Regions from separate parts of the Homo sapiens genome. Here regions 1, 3 and 4 are each linked to region 2. Evidence: promoter capture Hi-C in human tissues and cell types (Jung and others, 2019). All regions are on one chromosome and are shown on one strand. The core of a region is centred on a gene start or on the middle of the fragment in contact, and the rest is flanking DNA. Distances in the headings are between cores, read along the strand shown. Region 1 has its middle 23 kb from the start of MIR548H4. Region 2 holds the start of ADRA1A (adrenoceptor alpha 1A). Region 3 has its middle 29 kb from the start of MIR548H4. Region 4 has its middle 46 kb from the start of MIR548H4.

The links. The method cuts DNA at HindIII sites, captures the fragments that hold promoters and counts their contacts. A contact is called where the count stands out against the background at its distance.
Region 1: a fragment that was not itself captured here is called in contact with the fragment with the promoter of ADRA1A in region 2 in 2 of the 25 tissues and cell types used here (dorsolateral prefrontal cortex and hippocampus).
Region 3: a fragment that was not itself captured here is called in contact with the fragment with the promoter of ADRA1A in region 2 in 5 of the 25 tissues and cell types used here (dorsolateral prefrontal cortex, heart left ventricle, hippocampus and 2 more).
Region 4: a contact is called between a fragment that was not itself captured here and the fragment with the promoter of ADRA1A in region 2, in 1 of the 25 tissues and cell types used here (stomach).

What each region holds. Positions count from the first base shown.
Region 1 is chr8:27,022,847-27,028,133 of GRCh38, forward strand. No RefSeq gene overlaps it. Among named protein-coding and RNA genes, the nearest start is that of MIR548H4, 23 kb to the right of the region's middle. The HindIII fragment of the contact is 4,096 bases long and covers 1,051-5,146 here.
Region 2 is chr8:26,865,661-26,870,829 of GRCh38, forward strand. ADRA1A (adrenoceptor alpha 1A) reads right to left here and starts at 1,618. Exons shown (of 3, transcript NM_000680.4): 1 at 1,276-1,618. RefSeq lists an enhancer at 1-839. The HindIII fragment of the contact is 8,811 bases long and covers 1-5,169 here.
Region 3 is chr8:27,075,274-27,080,442 of GRCh38, forward strand. No RefSeq gene overlaps it. Among named protein-coding and RNA genes, the nearest start is that of MIR548H4, 29 kb to the left of the region's middle. The HindIII fragment of the contact is 6,468 bases long and covers 1-5,169 here.
Region 4 is chr8:27,091,985-27,097,142 of GRCh38, forward strand. No RefSeq gene overlaps it. Among named protein-coding and RNA genes, the nearest start is that of MIR548H4, 46 kb to the left of the region's middle. The HindIII fragment of the contact is 7,720 bases long and covers 1-5,158 here.

The DNA.
Region 1 (5,287 bases), core at 1,849-4,348, 160 kb after region 2:
TTTCCCCACATATGGAACAATTAATTCTCCAGCAGACTCGCTGGAGCTCGATGTCCTAAAATGTAACTCAATTGTGACACTATCTATGTGGAGATAGTGTTGGATCCCACAGGTTAAGGTTTTTGCATCATCAACACAGTTTTCACATTTACTATTAAATAGTTCATCCTTTCTCCCACTTACCTGAATTTCCAGAAAAATCTTATAATAAATCTTTATATATACATGCATCTATTTCTAGATGTTCTAATCTGGCCCATTGAGCAGGCTGTCTTTATTTCTATGCTAGTATATAGGAAACCTTTATCATTGGCCAACATAACCCTTAATATTTTCTTTTCTTTTCTTTCTTTTTTTTTTTTTTTTTTTTTTGAGACAGAGTTTTACTCAGTCTGTTGCTCCAGCTGGAGTGCAGTGGCATGAACTCGGCTCACTGCAACCTCTGCTTCCCAGGTCCAAGCGATTCTCCTGCCTCAGCCTCCAGAGTAGCTGGGACTACAGGCATGCACCACCACAGCTGACTAATTTTTGCATTTTTAGTAGAGACAGGGTTTCGCCATGTTGGCCAGGCTGGTCTCAAACTCATGACCTCAAGTGATCCACCTGCCTTGGCCTCCCAAAGTGCTGGGATTACAGGTGTGTGCCACTGTGCCCGGCCAACCCTTAATATTTTCTTGAGGTCATTATCCTCTCCCAAAACATGTGGCCAATCGTGTGCACTGTCCCCCACTAGCACATTGAGACAGTTGGGCCTACATGAGCCAGTTGGCACTTCCTACACCTGAAGTCTCAGGAAATGGCTCCAGAATTGTCATGTGACCCAAACAAGGCCTCGGGAGTTTTCGGCTGGAGCAACTGAGTAAGATTGCCCCTGGCATCTGCCATCTGAGTGCCGGAAGGAAGTGATGCCTTCCTGGCCATACGGAGGAAGCCCATCTGCAGAGGCAAGAAATGAGAACCCAGAACAGGGGTGCTAAGCCAAGTAAAAGAAGCAAAATACCTAGGCTACATGGAGTCGGATTCAGTTTGGACTCTGTCATCTGGTTTTTCTAGTTATGGGAATCAATGAATTCCCTTATTTTTGGATGAAACTGGTTTGAGTTTCTGCCTTAGCAGGTAACATCTGTCTAAGTGCCTCATAAACAATGAGGGACCATACAAATTTGAGATAGTGGTAACATCTGGGAAAAAGAATCATTTCTTCTAATATTAGTCATTCCAAAAGTCTTAGTCCAAGTTTCTCCATATAGTGTAGACCATAATTTAAACTCTACCTATATTACAGAATTATTTTATAAATAAATGAAAAATATATATGAAATCTAAAAAATGACAAAGATGAAAGTATTATTTTAATCATGGGCATATTTATTTTCTTTAGTTTTGCCCATCTTATTTGAGAGAAAATACTTTCATGTCTTTATCTATGCTACAGCCTCCTAATAGGTTCATTATGGTTTATAAATGTAAATTATAATTAGATTTCTATAAGGTCAACACCATTTAGAAGTATTAAGAAAGCAGCTGACTTGTATTACCTGTTTCTATTCATGTAAAATTCACCACAAGAAGAAAGATGATTGCTTTAGTAATTTTATTTTTCACTAAAAGCTGCCTAGTCCAAGCATTATCAATGGAGAAATGTCTCAGATAAATGGTACCTGCAGCTGTCACATCAAACCAGATGATAACAAAATCTCCATGTACACCAAGGTGTCTAAATGTTCAATGTTTCCAAAAACCACTTTCATTCCCAAAGTAGCTTTTACAGTGGCCCAAAACCACCACCCCACCTTTTTTTTTTTTTTTTTTTTGAGACAGGGTCTCACTCTCTCACCCAGGCTGGAGTGCAGTGGCATGACCTCGGCTCGCACAACCTTTGCCTCCTGGGCTCAAATGATACCCCTACTTCAGCCTTCCGAGTAGCCGGGACTACAGGCATGCACCCACACGCTTAGCTAATTTTTAAATTTTTTGTGGAGATAGGATCTTCTTGTATTGACCAGGATAGGCCCCGTATTTCTTAAAGAGCAGCACAAATAATGGGAAATGATTGTTAAATTCTTTAATTCCCCGCACTGTAAAATAATTGATGTGTACAAGAAGAATTTCTGTGAGTTGACTGAAGCAGGCAGAAAAATGATGTTTCCTTGTCTATCGTTTTGTTTTAACACCACTAGATACACTGGTTCTGCTTCACTCTCTTGCAAAAGATTTTTGCTTGAGTTATAACATCTTGCCGAAGAACACCATGAGATTTTAACGTAGCAGGAATTAATTAATCTTTAAACCTCTAAAATTAATTCCATCCTTCCTGAGGAAAGACAAATGGAAATGGTCAGGATTCCCACAACGAAGTACACAGGAATCCCAGCCTGAGCCTTGCCTCTGGCTTTATCTGTTTAATTGCTTGTTTGTTTGTCTCAATTCTGAGATTATATATTCTTAAACATAATCTCTTTAAAACCTTGAAACCATATTCCAGGGGAGAAAATAAGGTTTATGTCATCATGTTTGATGGAGAAAACCAGTTTCTGCATCTTTTCATCTCTGCTGTGGTTGGTCAAGGAGATGTGATTAGTCAATATCTTTGGCTTGCTGTATTCAGATTGAACAAAGCTTTTTCAGAACAACTGTTATGTGTCTAGCGCCTTGCTCTCACTTGTTTTATCTTAATTTTGACAACAACCTTATGAAGTGGTATTTTTAGTCATTTTAAGTGGAGGAACTTGAGGTTTAGAGCGATTTGTCCAAAGAGCCAGTACTGAGATTGCATCATTTGTTCAAGATTGCACAACTAAAAGGAGTCAGAATTTCAACTCAGGTCTTTCCAATCTATGCCGTGTGCCTTTTTGACCCTCCTCCCTCCGCTTGCTAAACATTGAATAATTGAAAGTATCATGGATGATACATCTAATTTTGATATTTGATGAATCTCAAAAACATTATGCTAAGCAAAAGACGCCAGACACACAGAAGAGTATATACTGTCTAAAGCCATGTATATGAAATCCAAATACAGACAAAATTAAGCCATGTAGATGGAACATAGGCAGTGGTTGACATCTGCACAATGAATGCTCCACAGTGTAGGGATTCGACTGAAAGAAACACCAGGGAACTTTTTATGGGGGTGGAAGTGTTCTATATCTTGTTACTTGGATATACACAATTGTCAATACTCTTTGAATAACTGAACATCTAAAACCTGTACTTTTCATTGTGTGTTAATCACATCTCAATTTTTTTTTTTTTTTTTGAGACAGTCTTGCTCTGTCACCCAGGCTGGAGTGCAGTGGCACAATCTCGGCTCACTGCAACCTCTACCTGCCGGGTTCAAGTGATTCTCCTGCCTCAGCCTCCCGAGTATCTGGGATCACAGGCACGCACCACCATACCCAACTAATTTTTTTGTATTTTTAGTAAAGACGGGGTTTCACCATGTTGGTCAGGCTAGGTTCAAACTCCTGACCTTGTGATCCTCCTGTCTCGGCCTCCCAAAGTTCTGGGATTACAGGCGTGAGCCACCGCGCCTGGCCACATCTCAATTTTTTAAGATTCTATTTAAATGACCTAAAATGCAGTTTCAGGTAACTCTGCTTCTCTGGTAGTCTTCAAAGTTGATATATCGAAATTTCTACTTTGAAACAGAAAACAAAAATAATATTTTAATGTCAACAGTGTCTTTGACACAAACTTGGCCATAGTTACTGACTTAGGTTTAGTGAGAAGATTCAAGAGAAATCTGGGCTATGAGGCACAATCGCCAGGAATTCTTACTTTTATCAAGAATCTATGTTTAAGTAATAATTGTATTAATGTTAATAAGCATTAACTGAACATTTCTAAGCACCAGACATGGAGTTAAATGCTTCACTGCCTCTTCTCACTTCATCCACACATCAATTTAATGAGGCAGGTAACATTATAATCATTACCCTCTGAAAGATAAACTCTCCAAGACTTAGAGAAGTCAGATGGCACATCCAAGATCTCAGAAGTAGGTGTTGGGCTAGAAATTTGCTGAAGAGAATCTGAATCTTAGCTCTAGTCTTACACTACTTAATATTGCTTTCAATGACAGCACTAATGAAAAAATTCAAGGGAATCAAGAAAAATGTTGAATGGTTAGCATTAACTTTTGCTTTTTTCCAGTCTTGTATTTTCTAGGTATTCCGTATGAAGTATGGGTTTCTTTTTTAGGTAATAAACTATAGTCTAAAATGATAGTTAATAGAATGTAAGTATGGGCTTGAACCTCAAAATACTTTGGAAGTTAAAAAAATAACTCTTATATAGACAATGTAAATATTCTGTTTCAGTGTAGTGGACTAAAACTACATGTTGCATTTCTCTGTGGCATCAGAAAGCTTATTATAAATACATAGCACAAATGTATTATTTTTCTGGCTTGAAGAAAAATATCCAATGGCACCCCTATCTCGTAAAATTTAGAACTGAAGGATGAAGCCATATTATGATGACCCTGCCTGTGTGACATTTTCACCTTAGGACTGATGTCTTGTGTTTGAAACGTGATTAAATCTGATCATCAGGTGTGATGATAGCTTGCAATGTTCTAAGGAATGATCCTCACAGAGGAAATTGATAATTCTACAATGCAAACCTTTACTTTATACTAATGGGTTAAGATGAAATACTGGGAGGTTTCTTCAGCACTTACTATGCTCAGAATTTAGGCAAGGGAGAAAGTAAGTCAGGCATCTATAGCCGATGTCAATTCCAGCTACTGTGGCCCCTGACGTGATGGTTTTCAGCGAAAGTGTAAAGTTATTCTCTAGATTTACAAATCTACAAATTATCAAAGTGGTACACATTTTAAAACTAAATCACAGCCACCAGCCCACATTGTTCTTCCCTTTTTTTGCATCCACCTGTCCATTGAATTCTCACTTTCAAGTCAATGTAATCCACTCAAGTTTTGGGAATCATGAACCTGACGAAAATACATGACAAAAATACAAAAGTATTTTGAAAGTATAGAAATGCAACATTTCTGATTCTTGCCATTCTAGTAATTTTCAATTCTTATCCAAATTATTCTACCTTGGCCTTCATCTGGTATGCCAACACTCATTTAGAAAACCACCAATAGTCTTCGGTTATTTACTCTTCTTTACTTCCTGTATACAGTAGATTTCTTTGTGCCTCCTGGATGCGTTCTTTTTTGCTGGAATATTTCATCCAAGAGTGATTTCAAAGAGATTCCGTGTGTTCATCCTTCTGAGGCAATTGTATACTTGAGAATGTTTTTATTGCACTTAAA
Region 2 (5,169 bases), core at 368-2,867:
AGAGCGCAAAGAGAAAGGCGGCTTTGAGCTAGGCGCCCCAGGGAAAGAGGCTGTGCTGAGCTTGACGGGTTGGGGGACACCAGTTGGGAGCCGGGTTGGTTCTGCGGTCCAGAAGCTGCTTCGCCCGGCAGCGGTGGAGGCGACTTCGGAGCTCATCTCGCGCCCCCACCACTGGGAACCTGCCTAGCGCACTCTACTGAGTCACCTCTGCCCGAGTTCAGGATCCGAAGCGAAAAACAAACAAAAAAACAAATCCCCAAAACCCCAGGCTCCAGCGCTCGAAGTCTGGATTTCGAGCGCAGGTACCACGAAATTAAAATCCTCGAAGCCCCGGAGGGGCGACTGCGGCTGGCGAGTGTGTCGCACGGATCCTAGCCGGGGAATTCTGGAGGATGTACTCGGTTTCCGTTAGAACAGGTTGCCTCGCAGTCACCTGGAGGGGGCGGCCTGGGAGAGGGAACAGCTGCGACCCAGGGACCTCAGGGCCAGGACCACGAGCACGCTCACTCTCACGCCGGTGGAATTCGCACTCGGGTGTGCAGAGCGCACCGGTCTGTCCACCAGCCAAGCTGGCTTGAGAGCCAGGTCCCGAGCGAAGCCGGGAGGGACCCGAAGACAGAAAGCGACCCAGGTCTGTCCACGACGCCTTTCCAAGCCTCACTGTTGGCCACCCGAGGGGCTCCAGCTGCCAGCCGTAGCGGGACTGGCGGGGGACGGGGTGGGGAGGACGTCCCTCTGCAGAGGGAGCTTTGCAAGTGACAGTCACTGCGGATTTTGCAGGCGTAAACATTAAGCCGGCATGCCAGCGGGCAGGGGCCGCCTTCGATTTTCTGGGCTGGGGGCCACCATCTGCGTAAGAAACCTGGGTTTCCACAACTGCGAACCTACCGCAGGGACTCGGCAGGACAGCGCGGCGTGAGGAAGTGCCCACCTTGCCTTCTGGGGTTGGGCCCTGAGGTGGGACCTCGGGCAAAGACTCTTGTTAAAATCGCAAGTTGGAGACCTCACAGGTGGTATTAAAAACGTGCCACTGCAGAAACCCTTTTCCTCCTACCTCGAGGGTGATAAACACAGGGTTAAAAAGACACTTGTTCAGTAGAAGGCAACTTCGCAGAAGATGTAAGGGAATCGGGGGTGGGGTAGAGGGGCCGGTATAAAACCTGGTGGAAAAAGCGGGAGGCGCTGGGAAAAGTGGGGGTTCCGTCTCACCAGACGGCGGGGGAGGTCTGCCCTCACCCACTCGGCCCTGCGGGACGCCGGCCCCGGCGCACTCACCTGAAGCGCCGCTGCTGAGCCACCAGCTCGCGCGCGGGGGATGTGGACCCGGCTTCGGTCCCGGGAGCTGCCTGCCTGCTCTTCTCTGGAGGCGGAGAGGGGACCGTGTCTCCGAGGCACCAAATCCTTGTCCTTTTGCACCCGCTGACTCACCCCTCCACCACTGATGTCTTTAAGCTCCTGAACCGCTGTCACTTTACCTGCATTTTTTAAAAAGAGTCAAAATAAGAAAAGAAAAAAAAATGCAGATAACCGGTAACTCCACAATCACCCTTTTAATATTCAGCTCCCCGACACCAGAAAAGAATAGCAAGGAACTTTGCAGCTCTCGCTGACGTAACTCAGGCAGTAGCCCAGCTAGTACCGTAATCTCCTGCTGCTACCGTATTACTCTACGGCAACAGGCACAAGTGCGTATACAGCTGTAATGTTTTCCTCTGGCCTAGAGGGGGTTGGGTTCTAGCGTTTCTTTAAAAAGGTTTGTGTGTGTGTGTGTGTGTGTGTGCGCGCGCGCGCGCGCGTGTGTGTGTGTAGAGTCATTTGTAGTAAATAACTTCTTTAAATGAGCTTTTAAAAATAACGAAAAATTGACACCCTTGCTAGATATTGCTGTGTGTATGGTGTGTTCATAGGAATGTGCTATAAAGTAACTTTGAACAGCTTGATTTGATTAACATTTGGCCTAGGTTTTGTTAAGATCAAGAAGTATATTAAGAATATTGTAATTCTAAATATGCAAGTAAATTATAAGGTGTTTTAAATAGCAAGTAAAATCAGATAAAATATGACAAATCTGATTGTAATGAAATTATATTTTCAGGAAGATAAAGTGGACATATCTAAACCTTATTTAATATGATTCACTTCTAATTTCTTTAGACAGATGAATTTTAAGAGCATTATGGCCACAGAGTTTGGTATTTTTTAAATGCCACACAATCTTTTCCAGTTTTCTTGAGAAAATGGTATCCTTTCAGGAGTGTTACTCTCTTTAATTCATTAATAGCTGGAGTATGAAAACCTAGCACCACCAGTCTTATTACTTTTTTTCTGGTAAATTACATAATCTGTTTACCTTGTGATTGAATAAAGTCACATGTGTTTCAGAATATCGGGAACATAGAAAAATGTTTCCCACTCCAATTCCCACCTCCTAAGTCATCTTTCATCTTTATTGATGCAGACAAAGTGGAATGTTCTTATTTACTAGGTCTCCTTAAACCTAGGAACAAGGAGATAACTTTAAGCAGTGGCACTTAAATTCTCTCCTGTGAACAAAATCATATTAATATGATTACCTTTTCTAAGTGAGATAATGTTTGGGAGGCTCTTTTATAGCAATAAATCTCAAAATGCCTCAGAGGAATGCCCATGAGAGGGTCAGTAAATCCTATGTCATGGAAGACCTAATATATGTATTTATTTCTCTATTGTATACAAAGTCCTCCACCTCTGCCTCATACCTGTAGGGATAGAACTCACACCTAACACATTTGATTTGAATTTAATATATTTTTAAAACTGAATTTCGTGCCATAGGAGGAGCATCCTGGTTGAACAGACAGCTCCACTTCTCATTACTAAGTCACCTGCTCTCTCTGGGATTCAGTCCCCTTAGGAGGAAGCTTGACCTCAATTCCCTGCACTTCTAGTACTTTATCATCAAATATGTGTATAATGTCTGTGCTTCCGAAATCCCATCCATCAGAGGGATATACACTGTTTTGTTTTGTATTCATTAACCTGATGCTGTGAATGCAAATTCTTCATTAAGATGTGTTCCATGGTAGATAAGGGAAGCAGTGCTATCAGCAAGCAAAGCAACTGAAAATTGCTCAGCTCTGCAAGGTCGAAAATTGCAAAAGTCTTTGTAACTCCCAGTCCCCACTCTACAACAATTAAGAATACACATAATCCACCCCTGCACCCACCTCCAATAATTAACTAGTTAATACTAAGATAAGGAAGAGCAGCTCTTCATGCTGCTAGCAGGTAGGTCTTTCAAATCTGCTTCTCAGCCTGTGACCATCAATCCTTGCAAAACGACCTCTCAGAACCAATTTTTCAGTCACCTACCATTGATTCACAAACAGAAAACTATCCATCTGTTGGTTACTCTTTAAAGAATAGTTGACGTGGACATCCCAGAAAGTGTCTGAGTTGTACACATGGGTAGGTGGAGTGGAGAGGAGTATGCTCTGGGGTCATAAAGATGCTATTCTGACCCTCCTATGCGACCATGGCAAAGCCTTGGTTTCCTAATTTTTAAAGGGAGACAATGAACCCCCACAAGGTTGTTATTAGTGTTGAAAGAAATTACGTTTCTCAAAAACTCAGCTCATAATATTCACTAACTCTATTATTAATCTTATTAACTCCCTTTCTGCTCATTTTGTATGCTACTTTATAGTGAAATATATTTCTAACCCAGGTAGTCCATGAACACTGGTAAATTCAGCTGGAGAATGTGCTAAGTGTCTTGAGCACTACACTTGAGCTAAGTGGTTTAATCAGAATGACCCAACATGGTTAAGTTGCAAGAGCTGGCCCTGATCACTGGCTGCTTCTTTTCTTCTCACTTTCCCCCTTGTTCTTTGTCTTGAGGGGCCATGCAAATGTGTGTGAACACCTCAGCCCCTACAGCCAGAAAGCTGCCTTCTTGGCCTCAGGCCTTGGGGTACACACATTTGTGATGTTGTCTGCCCAGAGAGAATGGACCTGAAAGTGATTGTGTGGCCATCTGGGGCAAGGGATTCTGAGTCCCAGGGCATGGTCTAGAAAGGAGGGCACAGGCTCCAGGTGGGCATATCACATTAGTCCTATGGCCAAAAGGAGTCAGAGCTGGACTCTCTAAAGCCTGAAACCCTAGCCGGGGTCCCTCTTGCCTGGCTCTGAGGGTGATACTCTGAAGACTTCCGGTGTGACAGAAATTGAAGAATCCCCTGAAGGGGTGGTTGTGGAAAGACTCATAAAATGATATTGCTTGATGTAGGATTTGTGGAATCAGCAGGATTGAGATTTGTAGACAAAAGTGAGGAAGGTGAACCATCAGCAGCCGCATTTTAGAGTGGTGTGTCAGGGATGCTGGGGGAATGAGTCTGATTGGAGAAGAGCTGAGCAATGGACATAAACCCATGCATTGATTGGCAGGACTTTCTTAGTGACTAGTGAGGAACTCGGCAAGTGTGGTAGGCTTAGAGGTTTAAAAAAATAAAGAATCTGTCTATCATTCCCTTAGAAAACAATACACAATGGAATTAGGAGCTGTGTTCTGGAATTTATGATTGCAAATGACAGAGTAGAAGACTTAATGTTAGTATCTACCCCAAAGACTTGGCTTTTCAACTAATTCTCCTAAGGCTTAATAAGTTAAAGAGGCAAGAAAATGAAAAACAATTCTCAGAAAGGTATTGATGCAGTATCAAGTCACAGCTCTCCAAAGAAGCATTGTGTTCTAATCCTTTATCGAACTGAGAACACTGCACAGCCCACAGATACTGCTGAGGGATGTCTTTGATGAGATAGTAATTCTGTCTTTGCCATCATTTTTCCAAATCTTCATTGCCCTGAGAAAATAACATACTCCAAGTCTTGGGAGTCATACCACCCCATCCCTACACTGTGGGACTATCATGGTAGGAATATGAGGTCAAGTCAGCCTATAGCTGATCAGCAAATAATTCCTTTAAAACAATAAGACTTTGCTCTCGCATAGCAAATCTAAGCTGAGGCATATTAATCAAATTTTTTCAATATCTTTGTCAATATCATCTGGAAATGGAAGTAAAAGAAAGTCAATATGTGTACCAAGTGCAGACACATTTTTATCTCATCTCTTCACTTGCTGATGGGCTGTTATAGGCACTTTAAAATGCTTATTGACTTGTATTTAAT
Region 3 (5,169 bases), core at 1,370-3,869, 210 kb after region 2:
CTCTGAGGAGGCTAATAACATCACTTACAAGTCTAAGCCACAGCCGCTGAGCACTGGTCCCTTCCCATGTACGACTGGTGACTTGACGACAAGTATTTGGCAGGGTCTGGGCCCAGTGGAGCCGAGTGGACTCCATGTCGGCTCCTTGGCTGTTGCTATTTCAGGGGCTTTCCACAGAACTTTTCCCTACTGTTGAATATGCAGAGCAAAGGGGAGAGACGCAGATGAGATAGGAAATAAGCCAGGAACCCCAGCAACATGGAAGGGAGTATTTCATGAAGGACACATGCCATGAATGTTTCTGAATCATTCTGGAAATCATAGGACTGTGAACAAGAAAAGACCTGAGAGATCTCATACTGACTCCCTTGTAGGGATCAGAGACACTGCCTGTTACATTTAAGATCTCGCAACCAGTTAGCAGCACTGCTGAGCTGGAACGCTGAATTTCTGGCTCCAGGGAAGCCTCCTTTCTGTTCTCTTTGCTGGATGAAAAGCTTAAATGCTGTCCTCTATCTGCCCAAAGTGAGACAGCATTCTAGAAATGCACACCTTTTAAAAATCAACATGACAAATATGAAAACATGGCACTGTTATAGTTTCAGTTTTTCTCATATTAAGATAAGGCTGGCTAGTGTGGTGGCTCATGCTTGTAATTCCAGCACTTTGGGAGGTGGAGACCAGAGGATCTCTTGAGGCGAAGGGGGTTTGAGACCAGCCTGGGCAACAAAGCGAGAACCTGCATCTACAAAGGAGAATTTAAGTTGGGTGTGATGGTGTGCACCTATAGTCCCAGCTACTTGGGAGGCTGAGGTGGGAGAATCACTTGAGCCAAGGAATTCAAGGTTACAGTGAGCTATGATCACTGCACTCCAGCCTGGGTGACAGAGCAAGACCCTGTCTCTGAAAATTAAAAAAAGTAAAAATATTTTTAAAAGATAAAGCTGTCCTTGCAATGATAACAAAAGAAGAAAGGTCAAATACCATCCTCGAGATGGCCCTTGTATAGTAACTCTAAATCTTCCAAATTCTCCTGGGTGCCATCCACAGGGTGCCTGAGAAAAATTATCAACTGCAAGAAAAATGCCTCCCTATTGAATTTCTCTTACTGACTATTTTTCTAAACTGGGTGCCACACAGTCCTTCTTAGGAAAGTTAATGCTACCTTGCTTCTCTTTCAGCTGTGTAATTCTCCCTTTTAAAATGCAAAGAAAAAAAAAAAGAGCGTGGTGTGTGTGTTATGTTCCTGATGTTAGAACTAGAAGACCTCTGATTTCATTGCCCAGTGTTATTTACAATGTGTGCCTTCTTTTCTCAGGAACTTTTAAGAATATGGTAGATTTGGGGCTTTGATAATAGGGCCAAAGGCAGGAAGGTTTCCATAGAGTCGTTTTTTCTATTCTTTAAGGTACCGAAAAAAGTTCAAAGAGGTAGGATTGCCAGATTTAGCAAGTAAAAATAAAGAATATGCAGTTAAATTTAATTTTCATTAAACAATGAATATTTTTAGTATATGTATGTCCTATGCAATATTTGGTACATGCTTATAGTAAGAAAATATTCGTTGTTTATCTGAAATTAAAATGTAATTGAGGGTCCTGAATTTTATCTGGCAACCCGAGAGGGAGGGAGAGAAGAAGGAAGAGAGAAAGAGAGAGGAGACAGACAGAGAGAGAGAGAGAGAAGGAAGAACAAGGATGGGGAGAAGGAGGAGGAAGAAGAATAAACATCAATGATAATAGTATCCTTCAGAGAGAAAAACCAGCATCAAATTACAAGATCAGTTCCCAGTATTGTGGCTTGTCCCCTTGACAAAGACGCAGAAGAGAACTTTTATCCACCAAAGTGGTGCTCAGGTAATGCATGATTAAGAAACCAAACAAAACAAAAAACAAAAAAACCCCACAGATCCTACTTGACACTTTGTTCCATTAATTCATTCAAAACCACTTCTGTATTACCTGGCAGGGCATTGCGGGGGTAGGTGGTGAGGAATTACTTTTCAAAGATAATTAATTTTCTACTCTTCAAAAGCTCACCAATCCTAAGTGCCATGAGAAAAATAAAAGCAACCTGACATAGAGCTAGGACACAAGGAAGACACACCTCGTTAGAGGGAATGGGAATGTTTATGTAGAAGACACATCTGCCATCCACCTTGAAAGATTGTGCTGCATCTGAGCCGTTGTCATACGAGGTCGTTTCTGATCTTTCTAAAATGTTGGCTTCATAGTGGGGCTGCTCGGGGGCAGGGGATCCTCCCATCAGGAGCAGCTAGCGAGAGGCAGAAGAGCCCATGGGTAGAGCAGGTTACCAGCCAGTGGCCATCCCGGATGAGAAGGTGGGAGGGCATGATCAGGTCATGTCACCTGGTATTTGAGGACAACCCTGAACGTTAACTCTGCTTGCATCAGCTTGTATCGCTCCAGAAACAGTATTCCTTAAATGCACCTTTTCCACAAGTCATATTATTTGCCTATATTAATAGTCCATGACTTGGCCATTTTCACATGAACACACATAGTAACTGTTCAAGATTAAAGGCAAGAGGAAAATCACTAATTAATCACAGTATCTGGGTAGTGGTTTAAATTTTCTTTTCCAGGAATAACACCCCCCCCCCATTTTATTTAATATGTAATAAGTATTATACATGTGTTAAATATTATAATATTCTTGTATGTAATAAATAACATATATAGCCAATTTATATATACTATACACAGTGAATAATGTAGTAAATATATATTGTAAAAATGTTGACTATATTATATACTATAATATTTTATTATACACTATAGTATTCAATAGTCTTTATACATAGTAAATAAAATTAGAAAATTTGCTTCCTGCAATAATATATTATATGAAACATTATTAAGTATAATATATATATAAACACACACATCAGTAAAATTGATACAATCAGAGCTGACTTCTATAAATAAGGTAATATTATCTCTCCAAGTTCATCAGCCTCGTTCTCGTAAATAGAGCACATTTTTGCTGAGAATATCTGGTAAATTTCAAATATGGAAGAAATCAGAAGTCTCATGTAAAACTGCATAAGAATAATTTCTGGTTCTTCTGTCTTTCCTTTTTAAAGAAAACCAGATCTTTATTATGGCTCACAAAGCCAGCCATTCCCAGGCCTTCAATGATATAATGAAATCAAGAATTTGACATCTTGTTCATATAAAGACCCCAAAATACCAAAAAGGTCTCATATTTCCAGAGGCTAGATTTAAAAATGAATCCTTCTCCAGAAATATATAGTATCATAACAATTTTAGGCCAGAAACACAAAATACATGCTAAAAATGAAAAACACAGTAATCAATTCTTAATAATATACTGAGGGGAAAAAAGGCAATTATCAGATGTTACACACTTCGAGGAAAAAACAAATGGGAAAGGGTCCAAGGACTGGTTTATGCTTTAACTCTCTATAGATTTTAGGCATAGATGGAAGAAATTGAAGCTTTTATGAAAACGGCCACAGTCAACAGAAAAACTTGCACAATGCTTATTTATTTGTGTAACCCAAACGGCCCCGGACATCAGCAGGCTTCAAGTGCATGCAAGTAAGGACATGCAACATGAATGTCCAAATGGAATCAGCTCCAAGCCTTCCCCAACCAAGGCAGGGCTTCACCCCCTGGCATCTTCAGGGAGACGCCCCGCTAGTGTTCCCATATGACTGGTTCAGCTCCACTGGTGCCCGCCTTAGCCCTGTTGCATGCCTGCTGATATCTCCTACCGACAGCGCTGCCTTGGAGAACCTCCGCACTGTACCGTTTGGAACAGGCATTTGGAAAGTCTGGTAATGATGTCCAACAGCACCACCTCCCCATGCTCAGAGCTGCTGATCTTTGAAGTGCCCCCAGTGGCTCCGGAGCAGAAATGAAAGAGTTGGCCAGGAGGAGACAGGCAGCATATGTGGACTTTGAAGCCAGGAGTGTCACCAGCTCTGCTCTGCTCGCTTGCCGACCCCAAAGTAGACTTCTCTCCCCAGCCCTCAGAGTGGGCAACATCCCCTGCCCCACCTCCACCTTCTTCACCCTCCGAACACTCTGCTCTTTTCCTTTGTAAAAATGATTTGATGCCTAATTAATGATACAAACTTTACAGCATCCGTATCTTAATTAGGCCTCTTCCCTAACACCTAGCACAATGCATGGGAGAAATTAGGTGTCTAATGAATGTTTAGAGAACAAATGAATGAATATTTTTCCTGGAGATAAGTCCCTAAATTTTTACAGCTAAATGCTTTCTCATAACAACAATTGTAAACTCATTCTTTCTATGTGTTGGCACTTCTCCCAGTCATTTATATGTTTACTCACATATTCCTCACTAAACTCCTATGGAACAGATACTTTCATTTTCTCCATGTTTACAGAGGAGGGAAATGAGGAACAGAGAGGTTAAGAAACTTGCCCATAGTCATCCAAGTAGTGAGTTGCAGACCTGCGATTCTGAACCCCAACAATCTCATTTCTGAATTGGTGCTCTTAACTTCCTATTAAATCCCATCTTTTGGAGAAGTCCGAGAGGTCAGGTGGAGAATATCAGCCTCTTCTTCTCCATCCTCTCTCTGCTTCAAGTAACTTCACCGGAAAGTAAATCATACAAAGAGAAACTCAATGACAATAATAATAACTCCATGTCTTCCTTTCTTCCTCCTTCTCCATCTTCCTTCTTTCCTTCTTTCTCCTTTCTTCCTCCCCTCCTTTCTCTCTTTTCCCCTCCCTCCCTCCCTCCCTCCCTCCCTTCCTTCCTTACTTCCTTCCCTCCTTCCTTCCTTCTTTCCAGTTTTATACCACAGTCCTACCCATCATGCCTGGCCCACCCCAGGAACCAGAACTACAAAAGTGAATGCAAATTTGTCCCTGCCATGGAATCATAGTCTGGTGGGAAGAGCAGAGGTGCAGCAGCATTAAAAATTTAACCTGGATAAACAAGGCCCAATGGAAGCATCTGGCAAACCCCAATGCAGATAATGCTGGCAGGAAAGAGCCAGAGGCCAGCAGAAAACTGACTGAGTTCATCAGCAAATTAGGAAAACGTGTCTGGGCCTAAGTCAAGATTGACTCCTTGCTCCTAAGGCTGCAAGGGAGAGGTGTGGTCTATACAGCTCACAGGTAGGAAATAAATCACTGCTAGCTG
Region 4 (5,158 bases), core at 2,420-4,919, 230 kb after region 2:
TTGGTATGGTCATTCTCAATTATGGCTATACATTAGAATTTTAAGGAACGTTTTTTTAATTATGATGATTCATAGATTTCAATCCTACCCCAAATCAATCAAGACAGTATCTCTAGGGATTCAGACTTGGAATTGAGAGTTATTTGTCTGTGAAATGGAGGAAAGGTCTTGTATTTTAAACTAATTTAAGTCCATTAAGGCAAGTCTCCATTAGCATACTACTACAAAATTCATCCAAACTAGGATTCTCCTGAATGAATCAGGACATATGCTCACCCTAGCTGTAAATCATATTTTGGGTTCATGCTTTAAGTGCCTGATTAAGAATGGACCAAGGACAATTAGTTGTTGCCTCTCTCAAATGATATAGAGCCAATGAGTGATTCCACTCTCCCTTGGAATCCTTAGAAATTCTGTGCCAAATGAATTTGCTGTCTTGGTGGTCTCAAAAGAACAGGGATGAGAGTTTGGAAATGGGTAGAAAACTGACAGCTATAAAAAAATTTAATACTCAGATACTGGAGATAAAATATGGCCATATATTCTGTTTCTCTCCAAAGAAGTGGTTACTCAAACATCTGATATCAGAGGCAAAGGTGAGAATAGTAGAGTGTTATGAGATCATTCTAATGTCATTCTTATTCTGTATTTGTGATAGTCCTTTTGTATTAGTGTGTTCTCATGCTGCTAATAAAGACATACCCAAGGCTGGGTAATTTATTTAAAAAAAAAAAGAGAGAGACAGAGAGGTTTAATGGACTTACAGTTCCACATGGCTGGGGAGGCCTCACAATCATGGCGGAAGGTGGAAGGCATGGCTTATACGTGGCAGCAGGCAAGAGAAGAAGTGCCAAAAGGAAAAGTGCCAGAAGCTTGTAAAACCATCAAATCTTGTGAGAACTCACTCACTATCACAAGAACAGTATGTGGGAGTCCATGCCCATGATTCAATTATTTCCACCTGGCCCTGCCCTTCACACTTGGGGATTATTACAATTCAAGGTGAGATTTGGGTGGGGACACAGAGCCAAATGATATCACCTTTCCTTTTAAAACTGCTCAGTATTATCACCCTTCCTAGCCTCCTAAATTTTTAGGCTTTTTCCAGTGAAAAACCTGAACCAGACTAAAAAGAGCTTGGCACAATAATGCTGACTAAAATAAAAAATATTAGAGAAGTGAGTCAAAGAGGAAAGGCAGCTGTGGATATTGGCGAGAACTAAGGGTGAGCTATTCTGAATTTAAATCGCATAAGCCAAACTGTCTGAGACACAGCATTCTCATCTAATATCCTATTATGAAGGGTGTTGCAGGAATTAAAGAAGATAAAGAACTAAAAAGATCCTGAGAGGTGTACCTAGTTCATGATTAACTTGCTAACTGTGGTACTGTGCATGTTATCTGAGATGGAATTATTAGACACCAGCAATCTTATAGTCATAGAGTGGTCCCTCAGCGTAGATGAAAGCTAAGTACTACAGAATGATCAAAAGCCAATACTTCAAAAAGCTGATGTACTTGTGGGTTTTTTTCTGTATTTAGATGTATTTCTATCACCTTACTTTGGCTTTCCATTAGCCATGATTCACTAAGCTACAGCTTTCTCTTTTTTTCCTTCTATTTGGTTGATCCACATTTTTTTCATCAGATTTGAATGTTAGATGTTCTATTTCTATTCTTTAACTGGTTATCTAATTTTTCCCATGTACTTAACTTTTCAACATTTAATTTTAGTCTATATCTTTACCTTCCCGGTGAGCATAAGGATTTTAGAATACTTCCATTTCAATTCCCCCCTTTGCATTTATCCTCACCATTCTTCAGAACACTGTTATAAAATATTTCATGAATACTTGGTTTTATAATTCCAAAATATTTATTATCACTACTATCCTCATTATCACCATTATTACTGTCTTAGTGTAAATACTTCTTTTAATTTACTCACGTGTTTACTATTTCTTTGTTCAGCATCCCTTAATTCTCTTCTCCTAGATTTAATCTTCTTTCTAAAGCACATTTTGGAACTTTTTAAAGTGATTGTTTGTTAATAATAAATACTTAGCACTTCCTTGTCTAAAAGTATTTTTTATGTTGCAGATATTCTTTAGTGACATTCCAGCTGGGTACAGAATTCAAACTTGATTGTTATTGCCTATTAGTATTTTTAAAACATTATGTCAGGTTTTTTTCTATTTTTGTTGTTAATAGTTTTTGTTTATCAACAAAATAATCAACATTTTGTTGATAAATGTGCTGTAAATTTCCAGTGGAAGTTTAAGCTTTACAACTAATATGGACAACAACTTGACAATATATTTCAAAATTATAAGGTCATATACTCTTTACCAAGCCATTTCACTTCTAGGAATTCACAATATACATATACTCATAGAATGACCTTTGAAAATCATCATACTGCTTGAAACTTTCCAATACCTTCTTTCCTCATTCAAAGTAAAAGTCAAAGTGCTTGCACAATCCTACCACGCTCCATGAGGTTTATCACCTTGCTCTCCTCACTTCACCTCCTGTCACTCCCTTCCTTGCTCTCTTCTGTCCATCTTAGGGATTTTGCAGTTGTTTCTGTCTGCAAAGTACTCACCAATATATCTGCATGACTTATTCACTTTTCTTCTCAAGAATATTTTTTATAATCCTACATAAAATAGCTGGCATTACCACCAAAATTCTCTCACCCTCATCCTGCTTTATTTTTCTCAATAGAACTTACTGCTATTTGACATACGATATTTTACTTTTTATTTGTTGTTTATCTGTCTCATCAGTTAGAGTATCAGCTCCACGAGGGCAAGGGATTGGTTTTATTTATTTATTTTACTGTGTCCACACACAAGTGCCTAAAATTGTGCCTGACATATAAAAATAAATATGCATTGAATTAGTGAAATTATGTTCATGCCCGTAGGTAAAATTATGTTTGTGCAATGTTATTTTTTGCATAATTCTTTGTAGAACCAAAAAATTTTAGAAACAACCTGCATTGGTTAATTTTATGTATCAATTTGACTGGCCTATAGTGATACAGGAGCTAGAAAGGAGTTACTTAGGGAGATAATGAGGGTAAAGGAGTCCTGGGCAAGGCTTCCCTTTTAACAAAAAGCAGCCCCCAAATCATTTTTTCTTTTTTCTAACAAAGAGCAGCCTGAAAAATCGAGCTGCAAACATAGATATGCAAGCTGGAAACTTGCGTGGATGAATGCCAGCAGCTGTACCAATAGGAAAAGGCCACCTGAGGGCTGGGCATATCCAACATGGAAGCTCCATCATCCGTTTTCTTTGTCACCACAGGTACAGTAAAGAGGCAGGCAACATGGTGCCAGTCAGGCAGAGAACCCATCTGCATAATAAAAGATTAGAGTGGGCCAGGCACCGTGGCTCACAACTGTAATCCCCGCACTTTGGGAGGTCGAGGAGGCAGATCACGAGGTCAGGAGTTCGAGACCAGCCTGGCCATAGTGAAATCCCATCTCTACTAAAAATACAAAAAAATTAGACGGGTGTGGTGGCACGCGCCTGTAGTCCCAGCTACTTGGGAGGCTGAGGCAGGGAATCACTTGAACCTGGGAGGCGGGGGTTGCAGTGAGCAGAGATTACGCCACTGCACTCCAGCCTGGTGACAGAGTGAGAGTTGTCTCAAAAAAAAAAAATTAGGGTGGGGCAGCCAGCTTCTTCGTGCACTATGCAAACAGCACACCTAGTCCTAACCAGTTCTTTGAGCACTATTCAAATGGCACACCTGGTCCCACCAACCTTTCATGCCCTATGTAAATCAGACACTGCCTCCTCAACCTCATCTGTAAAACCTCCTGCACTTAACATCGGACCGGAGGACCCATTCAGGACCCCCATCTCTCTGCAGGAGAGAACTTTTCTCTTTCTTTCACCTGTTAAACCCCCATTCTCAACCTTATTCCTTATGTGTCCATGTCCTTGATTTCCTTGACACGGGACAATAAACCTTGAGTATTACTCCAGACGAACAACACCACTTCAACAGGACACCTAGGTACCTGGTAAAACCATATTTGTGAGTGTGTCCATCAGGATGTTTCTAGAAAATATCAGGATTTGCATTGGTGAACTGAGTAAAGCCGATGGTTCTCCCCAGTAAGGGTGTGCGTCATTCAACCTATTGAGGGTCTGCATAGAACAAGAAGGTGGAGAAAGGGCTAGCTCATTCTCTGTGCTTGAGCTGTGACATCCATGTTCTCCTGCCCTTGGACATCCATGTTCCTGATTCTCAGGCTTTTGAACTCAGACCTAGATTTACACTATTACTCTCTGACTCCCAGGCCTTTGGACTTGGGCAGAATTATACCACTGCCTTCTCTTGTTCTCCAGCTTGCAGGCAGAAGATTGTAGGAATTCTTGGCTTTCATAATCATGTGATCCAATTCCTATAACAAATCTCCTTTTATATATCTGTCTTGGTCTGTCTGGGCTCTTCTAATTAAATATCGTAGACTGGGTAACTTATAAATAACAAACATTTATTTCTCACTGTTCTGGAGGCTGGAAAGTCCAAGGTCAAGGCACTGGTAGATTGGTGTTTGATGAGGGCCTGCTTTGTCATAGACGGCACCTTCTTACTGTGTCCTCACATGGTGGAAGGGGCAAGGCTGCTCTCTGGGGCTATTTTATAAGGTTTATAAGGGCACTAATCTACTCATCCCATTCATGAGTACAGTCCTCATGACCTAATCACCCCACAAAGGCCGTATCTCCTAATACCTTTACACTGTGATCAGGTTTTTACATAGGAATTTGGGGAACACAAATATTTACACCATAGCTATAATTACACACACACATGCACCACACACACACACACACACACACATACACAACAATTCTCAGAGGTTCTCTGAGAATCTTAACAGATAATCATAGCAATCTAACTGTTCATCATAGCAATCTGGATAAACAATTATGCTGCATCCTATGTGACAGAATGCAGTGGAGTATCTCTTCATGTATTTAAATTAATTTAATTTTCTTCAAATTTTATTTTAAGTTCAGGGATACATGTGCAAGATGTGCAGGTTTGTTACCTAGGTAAACATGTGCCATGAGGCTTTGCTGCACAGATCATCATCTCCTCACCTAGGTATTAAGCCCAGCATCTATTAGCTGT